3 separate regions of the Homo sapiens genome follow, and all the other regions are linked to region 3. Evidence: promoter capture Hi-C in 16 types of primary human blood cells and fetal thymus (Javierre and others, 2016). All regions are on one chromosome and are shown on one strand. Each heading gives the region's core, a stretch centred on a gene start or on the middle of the fragment in contact. The rest is flanking DNA. Distances are from core to core; before and after follow the strand shown.

Region 1 (2,700 bases), core at 13-2,512, 660 kb before region 3:
AGAGCCCCATCTAACAACACACACTCTGTCCCAACGGCCATAATCACTCCCTCTTCCAACCTCTGCTTCTGAAGGTTGGGCCCATCAGTACACTCCTACACATTCCTCTCTCCTTGACCTCCTCACAATCATCCTGCCCAGTGCAACTCACTCAGCTAGCTGCACACCCACACAGGTAAGCGTGCAAATGCACACACATCCACCATGCTTGTGGCCACAGTATTTCCTATGCACATCCCCAGGAATAGATGCCCATACACACAGGGTTCCCCACAAGCCCACTCCCACAGATATGTTTCAGTCACATTCACATAGACACACTTCTGCACACATTGTGGTGGACACACAAACCCAACCCCAGCACACTTACGCACATGCACACTTCATCAGACATAGTTACAGACACACACACAAAGACACTCCCATTTACACATGTGTTCATCTTAACATACATTGACCCATGAGCTCTCACATGCACACATGGGCACACATACAAACTACTGTTTACCAACACAGTTTGCTGGGATCCTGGGCTCGATTGAAAACACACACACACACACACACACACACACAGCTCTTGCAGCTGCAGTCTCTCACTGACCCCACCTGGGCTACCCCCTTCCAGCCTCCCAACCCCTGCCCCTACCTGGGGCTGAGCTGCAGGAAGGAGTGAGGCAGCTTGTGCTTACTCCTGAGGTGGGGGTGCATTCCCCCAACAGGGCAGGAACTCCAGACTGGCACTTGCTCCCCCCCCACACACACCTCCCCTCCTAGTTGCCATCATGCTCCTGGGCACTGCCTTGTCTCCCTGGACTGCCCATATCCTGTCACCAGTCCAACCCCCTCCTATGAGGGAGCTCACTGCCTTTGGTTGGGCACCAGCACTTTCCTATGACCCTGTCCCTCCCTTCTTCCAGGGTCCTCTACCCCAGCAAGAGCATCAGAGGCCCCTGCAGGCCGGGGTCCCAACTCTCTAGGAGGGCGGAGCATGAGGTGAGGGCTCACCTGGGCATGGCAGCAGCCAGCAGCAGTAGGAAGAACAGGAGCACCCAGAGCGCTGGCCGCGGCTGGGGCTGGGGTCGGAGCCGCAGCCAGGGGCGAGGGTGGGCGCTGCCCATGGCGCGCAGGCCCTGACGGGCTGGGAGTGGGGGGCTCACAGCCCAGTGGGACTGGAGAGCCAGGGGCGCCGGCGCATGATCGGCGGGGGGTCGGGGCGGCTGCGACACACAGCTCCGACTCGGGTCAGGGCTCCCGGAGCAGACGGCGCCCGCCTCCCCGCTCCATGGGGCAGCACCCCCGGGCACCGCCCTCGGGGGGGGCGGGGGGTGAAGAGCGGGCGAACCGGGCACCTCCTGGCACAGGGGTCCGGGGAATTTCCCGAGGCCCCCCCGCGACAACTCCCGGTGCCTCTCAAGGGTAAGGGGGGCCCGGAGGTGCAGCGGGCTGGGGACGGGAGGCTGGGGTGCCGGGGAACCCTCCAGCGCAGCGCCGGGAGCCTGCGCTTCCGAGGGCGTGCGAGGCTGGCTGGCGGGGGCGGCGCTGTCTGTGTCGGGCCCCACTGCCTGTAGAGTAAGTGACTGTCCCGGCTCGGGGAGCTCTGCCGCCTTCCCTTTCCTCCCCCCACCCCCCCGCCATTTAGTGTCTCAGGGCTCTACCCCACGTGACGTCACGCGGCGGGGCGTGGAGGCGTGTACGAGTCCCGAGGCCACTGCGTCCGCTGGGGACTGGGGGTGGGAGCGTCCCTGCTGAGGGCAACAGAGGGAAAGGTGTTGGGGTCTGTGCGCGCGTGCACAGGAAGATGCCTGTGTGTGGAGCGCGCTGGGTTGTGTGGGGGATATGTGTTACCGCGAGGTGTGTGTGCCTGGCAGAGACGCAGCTGCTGGGGAGCGCCCCCATCCCACCCCAACACACACACCTGCAGGGGCTGGAGGGGAGGGGCTGGCCTCTGTGTTTCGCCTCCTCCGCCAGAGGAGGGACTTCCCCCAGGCCTGCCTGGTGTGAGGCAGGTGTGGGCTCCTGCAGAGGAGTTTGGCAGCCTCTGGTTTCTTCTCCCCTTTGCTGTGTGACCTTAAACAGGTGCCTCCTGCTCCTGCTCACGGAGACCTCCTCTGCCCCTTTGCGGAATGCGGCTCATGGGGACCACCTTGTCTCCTCAGTGAGCCCGGGGAGGCAGCAGTGTCAGGCCCCCAGAAAATGCTTGCGTAGGAGCGCCCGGGGTGGCACGTCCTGGGAGGAGGCGTTAGAGAGACTTTTAACCCTAGAAGTGGCCGTTGAGATAGTTTATTTAGCTCCCCTTTATTTCACAAGAAAATATCGAGGCTCAAAGAGGTCACACAGCAAATTAGCGGAAGAGCGAGAACCGAACGCAGCTCTCCTGACTCCCAGCGCAGCAGCTGCCTCCCCAACACTGAGTGTTGCCTGCCTGTGCCCGCAGATACTCTCAGTCTTGTCCTGGCCCTCCCTGGCCCCACCTGCACATGGTCCTCTAGGAGGTCCCTAATACCAGCCTCCTGGCTCAGGTCTACTTCTCGCTGAGATCTTCCTGTCCCTCCACCCCAACTGAACACTGGGCCCCTCCTCGATATAGTGCAAGTGTGCTGGGCCCAAGCAAGGGCCTGAGAGCCAGAGGGCAGGGGAAAGGCAGCTCTGCCGTCTGTTTCTGGTGCTAGCCTGGGCCCTGATAGTGGATCGTGCTCCTGC
Region 2 (2,717 bases), core at 41-2,540, 690 kb before region 3:
GTCCTGTGGGTTGACTACAGTCAGCTGGGCAGTTCTCACGTGGGGTCTCTCAAGCAGTTCAGTTAGATGGTGGCTAAGGCTGGAGTCATCTGAAGGCTCAACTCGGCTGGATATCCAAGATGACTTTTTAAAAATTTATTTATTTATTTATTTATTTTTGAAGACACAGCCTCACTTCGTCACCCAGGCTGGACTGTAGTGGCGCAATCTCACTCACTGCAACCTCCACCTCCCAGGTTCAAGTGATTCTCATGCCTCAGCCTCCCGAGAAGCTGGGACTACAGGCATGTGCCACTATGTCTGGCTAATTTTTTGTATTTTTAGTAGAGATGGGGTTTCGCCATGTTGGCCAGGATGGTCTTGAACTCCTGGCCTCAAGTTATCCGCCTGCCTCGGCCTCCCAAAGTGCTGAGATTACAGGTGTGAACCACTGAGCCCAGCCCCAAGATGACTTTTTAAAGTCACATGTCTGGCACCTCATCTGAATTGGCTGGAACTGAAGGGGCCTGCCCAGGCATTACTCTCTCTATACAGCCTTCCCATGTGGCTTGTTTCGGGTTCCTCATAGCATGGTAGTCTCTGGGTAGACAGACCTCATACACGGTGATTGGCTTGCCCCAGAGTGAACATTCCGAGCGACTGAGGCAAAAACTGCAAAGCTTCCTATTCCCTCTCTTCAGCAGTCATGCAGCTTCGCTTCCACAGCACACTCAGTGAAAAGGAAGCATGGACTGGCCCTTTCAAGGGGAGGGGACAATACACAGGTGTGAAGCATGATTCAAGGCGGACCACCTTTGGGGCCCAGCTATTACAGGGGCTGAGGCAGGAAAGGACTGCTCAGGGAACTGCACACAGTCATGCTTCAGTGGAACATGGTGTGGAAGTGAGAAAAAACTGGAGATGATCGTTTGTGGCATATGGTGGAGGGCTTCAATGCTCAGGAACCTGCATATGGATACACACTGGAGTCTTTAGCTGCCCAGCATCTGAGCCCCCTTCATATGTTGGTGGAGCCTCCCTAATGTGAGTCTTAGTGAGAAGTCAGATACTTGCTCACCTGGCCCCTAGCAGGAAGATCACAGCCAAATCAATGCTCCCAGTCAGGACTCTAAATCTTCAACAAGTGACCCAAGGAGGAAGAGGACTGTTTATAATTCATCCCAGAGGTGGCAGCAGCAAGTGCTCAGGGTGGTGGTAGCCATGTGGGAAGCAGCCCCCAAGCCCCTTAATCAGGCTGCACTTGGGACAGGATTTAGCTAAAGTTCTAGCTGCCTAGCTTCTCTTGGCTCCTGCTTGCTTCCTGAGCCTGATTCTTGAGGCTTCCTGTCAATTCTTTGAGTTCCCTGATGTCATCCCAGTAAATTCCTCTTCTACTAAGTGAACCAGAGTCTGTTTCTGTTGTTTGCAATTAAGAACCCAAATTGGTACAAAGATCCATTGAGAGCTTTAGTCAGAGGAAATGACATGATCAGAGCACTTCGTGGGAGAGAAAAACAGAACAATAGGATAGGGATGGATTGAAGAGGAAGAAAGAGGAATGACAGAGGCTAGTTGGAAGGTCGTTGTGATGTTTGAGGTGTGTGGTGAACTAGGATATTGACCATGTGAATGAAGTGGAAGAATAAGCAGATCTTGGCCACTGATTGAATATAGAAAGGAGAAGAGAAGGTGAGAGTCCAAGTTTACACCAGTTTTGAGGTTCAGTGACTAAGAAAATGATGATGTGACAAAGAGAAACAAGCAAGTTAAGGAGAACTGGTTTGGAGGGGAAAGTCATTCATTCACTTATTCAACAAATATTAAATGCCTGGTCTATGCCAAGCACTGTGCTAGGCATTGAGAAAAGAACAGTAAACAAAACAAAGTCTCAGCCCTTAGCAAATACATACATAAGATAATGAATCTGCATTAATAAAGCTTGAGCCGGGCATGGTGGCTCACGCCTGTAATCCCAGCACTTTGGGAGGCTGAGGTAGGTGGATCACTTGGGGTCAGAAGTTCAAGACCAGCCTGGCCAACATAGTGAAACCCCATCTCTACTAAAAATACAAAAAATGAGCTGGGCGTGGTGGCAGGCCACCTGTAATCCCAGCCACTCAGGAGGCTGATGCAGGAGAATTGCTTGAACCTGGGAGGCAGAGGAGTCAGAGGTTGCTGTGAGCTGAGATGGCGCCATTGCACTCCAGCCTGGGTGACAGAGCAGGACTCTGTCTCAAAAATAAAATAAAATAAAATAAAGCTTGAGTGGGTGGTATCACAGGCATACATTAAAACATGTCTAGCTGGCAGCTGGAACTTCAAGAAAGATCACAGGAGACCAGGTGTGGTGGCTCACACCTGTAATCCCAGCACTTTGGGAGGCCAAGATGGGTGGATCACCTGAGGTCAGGAATTCAAGACCTGCCTGGCCAACATGGCGAAACCCTGTCTCTACTAAAATACAAAAATTAGCCCGGCATGGTGGTGCACACCTGTAATACCAGCTACTCAGGAGGCTAAGGCAGGAGAATTGCTTGAACCCAGGAGGCAGAGGTTGCAGTAAGCTGAAATCACACCACTGCATTCCAGCTTGGGTGACAGAGCGAGACTCTGTCTCAAAAGAAAAAAAAAGAAAGATCATAGGAAGGAAGTTTGGGCCTGAAGACAGAAGTTAGTAGTGATTTCTGTAGACATTTATTTATTTATTCATTCATTCACTTATATTTATTGAGTTCCTA
Region 3 (2,700 bases), core at 13-2,512:
CTTCTACTGATTCTTGTGTTTGGCAGAGAGGCTGCCTTGGAAAGATGCCCTAAGCCCATCTTTTAAAAAGTCCAATCGTAAAGACAGGTTATCTAAGAACTTTATAGATTCTGGAGTCTTTGAAGTGTGTAACTGGGCCAGGGCTACCACAGAAGAAATCACAGACCTAGGGTCTTGATGTAAGAATTTACAAGATAACCAGATAAAGGCTAGTGGGTGAGGAGAGAGCATTAGAACCTCAAAGGAGAGATAAGGAAGGGGTGTGGAGCGAGGGACAATTGGCTTTGCTTTAAAAATATGTAACAAAATGGCCCAGTGTCTCTCACAGAAGGGTTCGGGGAAGGGAAACCAGAGATCGCGTTTTTCCGGCTCTAAGACTGGGTCGGCTTTTAGTCTTCTCTTCTGCTCCTTTTAAAGGAGATGGGGGTGGGGAACGAGAATGCTGGTGGCGATGTGGGCCTGCATCTCCTTCCCTCCTCCAGTCCTGGGAATTCCTGAAAACTCCTTCCAACCCAATTCCAAACAGGCTCTCTCTGGGTTCAGAACAATGCCGGGGAATTTCACGCAGGGAAGGGGTCCCCTTCTCGCCCCAGAGGGCAGGGGGCTACTCCGGAGCGAGTTCCGGCTCCAGGGTCCCCCACGTCCCACAGGTCTCCTGCCCTTTGGCACGCACAGCCCTCACCACTCGCTGCTTCCGCATCCCTCCTCTGAGCCTCTCCCCACGCATCTCTGCCCCTCGCCCGGCCGCGCCCAATCGCCTCCCACGTCTACCCCGCTGGGGCAGCCCCTACACCCTGCCAGGCACCCCATTTCTCTCCTCCAGGTCTGGGGGACTGGACAACATTGGGGATTAGCTGGGGTCAACTCTGCTTCCCCCGCCACCCCCGGCCCCGGGCGCGCGCTCACCCGGCGGCCGCGTTCTCGAACTTGAGCGCGAGCGTCTCCTCGATGATGCGGTTGTTCACCTCCAGCAGGATCATGGCGGCGGCTGCCCCCAGGGGAAGGAGAAACAAGGGCCGGTGAGGGTGGGTAAGGGAGGCAAGGACGGAGGGAGCGGCCCTGCTGCCCCCTGAGTGGGGCTGGGTGGGGTAGGAGGTTAGGGGAGAAGGGGAGAGGGGCCGGGGTGGAGGGAAGGGTAAGACGAACGCGCTGGCCCACGCACGCAGACTGTGGAGACACCCACCCACCCAACCGACCTGGCCCCCGAAGCCTGAACCCGCCTGCCGAGCCGCCGCCGCCGCCGCCACTGCCGCTTCACCGACAAGCCCGGTCCCCGCCCAGCCCCCGGCTCTAGCCGGCCACTTCCGCTCTCACACCCACTTCCGCTCGCCGCCTGGACGCGCGGCCCCGCGGCGCCATTTCCGCTTCAACCACTCGTGAACGCGAGCGCAGGCGCGCCGGAGGAAACGGAGGCTGCGCTTGCGTATGTGTGATGCCGCCGCCCCACCGTCTACTTTCCCACCGACCCCGCTTACGTCTACCGCCTACCAGTGCGTCCCCCGCGGAGCTGTCATTCCCCGAGGCTTGCCTGACTGTTCAGCTTCTCTCTCCCGCTTGTCCCAGAGATCCAACTCCATTCTTCCGGTCTTGTCATTTCAGAAACCTCGCAAGAAGCTCGCCCTTGTCGTCTCCCAGCGGGCTTCTTAGCTCCCAGCTTGTTTGATGGGGGTGCCTCTTTTTCTTTCCAGGTATAGCTGTCCAGCGACACCATCATGCATTCATTTCTCCAACAAACATTTTCATGGGCTCTTGCTCTATACTGGGGATGTAGTGGTAAATGAAATGGACGAGGCCCTGCCCTCGTGGAACTTACAGTCTGGCAAAGGAAACAGACAATAAAATTCTCAGTTGTCTAAGGAGGCAGAGATGCATGGGGAGAGGATCAGAGTAGGGATGCGGAAGCAGCGAGTGGTCAGGAGTGTGCGTGCCAAAAGGCAGGAGACCTGTGGGACGTGGGGGCAGCTGGGGCCGGAACTTGCGCTGGAGGAACACCCCTTGCCTGCTGGGGCGAGAAGAGGACCCTTTCCTTGGGTGAAATTCCCCATATTGTTAAAAGGACAATTAAAGAAATGAAAGAGAGGTCACCTGGGTGAATAGGCAACTTAGATGGGCCTCCCTGTGTTCCTGTCATGCCTCCAATTCTGCGTCCAGGTGTCCGGAACACATTTTTTTCTGCCTTTGAAACCTTCCAGTACCTCTGGCAGAGATATACCATACCCTCCTTGTTACCTGCGTGCGGAATCTTAACTCATCGTTGTGCTACATCTGCACCTTCTGCCTTTGTGCCTTGTTTTGTGTTTTCCCTCCTCCGGGGAGAATATAATAAACTTAGCTGAGTCCGTTCTACATACAAGGAAATAATTTATTTTCTGCTATGTGTTTGGGGATGGGGATAAAAAAATGAACAAGAAACTAGCTCCTATCATTAAGGCACAGATAGCCCTTTGAAACATTACTTAACGGGCTATGGATAAGCTTCAGGATATTGCTGATCCCCTAAAATTATACGCTAACTTAAATTTTTTTTTTTTTGAGACAGAGTCTTGCACTCTTGCCCAGGCTGGAGTGCAATGGCATGATCTCGGCTCACTGCAACCTCTGCCTCCCCGGTTCAAGCGATTCTCCTGCCTCAGCCTCCCAAATAGCTGGGATTAAAGGTGCCTGCCACCATGCCCTTTTAATGTTTTGTATTTTTAGTAG

Evidence for each region. Contacts are between HindIII fragments. The CHiCAGO score rates a contact against its expected background, and 5 or more counts as called.
Region 1: a contact is called between the fragment with the promoter of WNT10A here and the fragment with the promoter of ARPC2 in region 3, in 7 of 17 cell types (non-activated CD4 T cells, naive CD8 T cells, naive CD4 T cells and 4 more). The highest score is 8.3, in non-activated CD4 T cells.
Region 2: a fragment that was not itself captured here is called in contact with the fragment with the promoter of ARPC2 in region 3 in 2 of 17 cell types (total B cells and activated CD4 T cells); the score reaches 5.7 in total B cells.

Annotation. Positions count from the first base shown.
Region 1 is chr2:218,879,414-218,882,113 of GRCh38, reverse strand. It overlaps WNT10A (Wnt family member 10A), which reads right to left and starts at 1,262. Exons shown (of 4, transcript NM_025216.3): 1 at 1,006-1,262. The coding sequence starts at 1,118. RefSeq lists silencers at 1,187-1,326, 1,347-1,556, 1,777-1,836. The HindIII fragment of the contact is 9,483 bases long and covers 1-2,700 here.
Region 2 is chr2:218,903,120-218,905,836 of GRCh38, reverse strand. The region is part of intron 4 of LINC01494 (long intergenic non-protein coding RNA 1494); the gene reads left to right. Among named protein-coding and RNA genes, the nearest start is that of WNT10A, 24 kb to the right of the region's middle. The HindIII fragment of the contact is 1,258 bases long and covers 662-1,919 here.
Region 3 is chr2:218,215,751-218,218,450 of GRCh38, reverse strand. It overlaps ARPC2 (actin related protein 2/3 complex subunit 2), which reads right to left and starts at 1,262. Exons shown (of 11, transcript NM_152862.3): 1 at 1,197-1,262; 2 at 907-988. The coding sequence starts at 980. It overlaps LOC101928487 (a long non-coding RNA gene), which reads left to right and starts at 1,265. Exons shown (of 2, transcript XR_923908.2): 1 at 1,265-1,423; 2 at 1,600-2,350. RefSeq lists a silencer at 1,079-1,128 and an enhancer at 650-1,253. The HindIII fragment of the contact is 6,430 bases long and covers 1-2,477 here.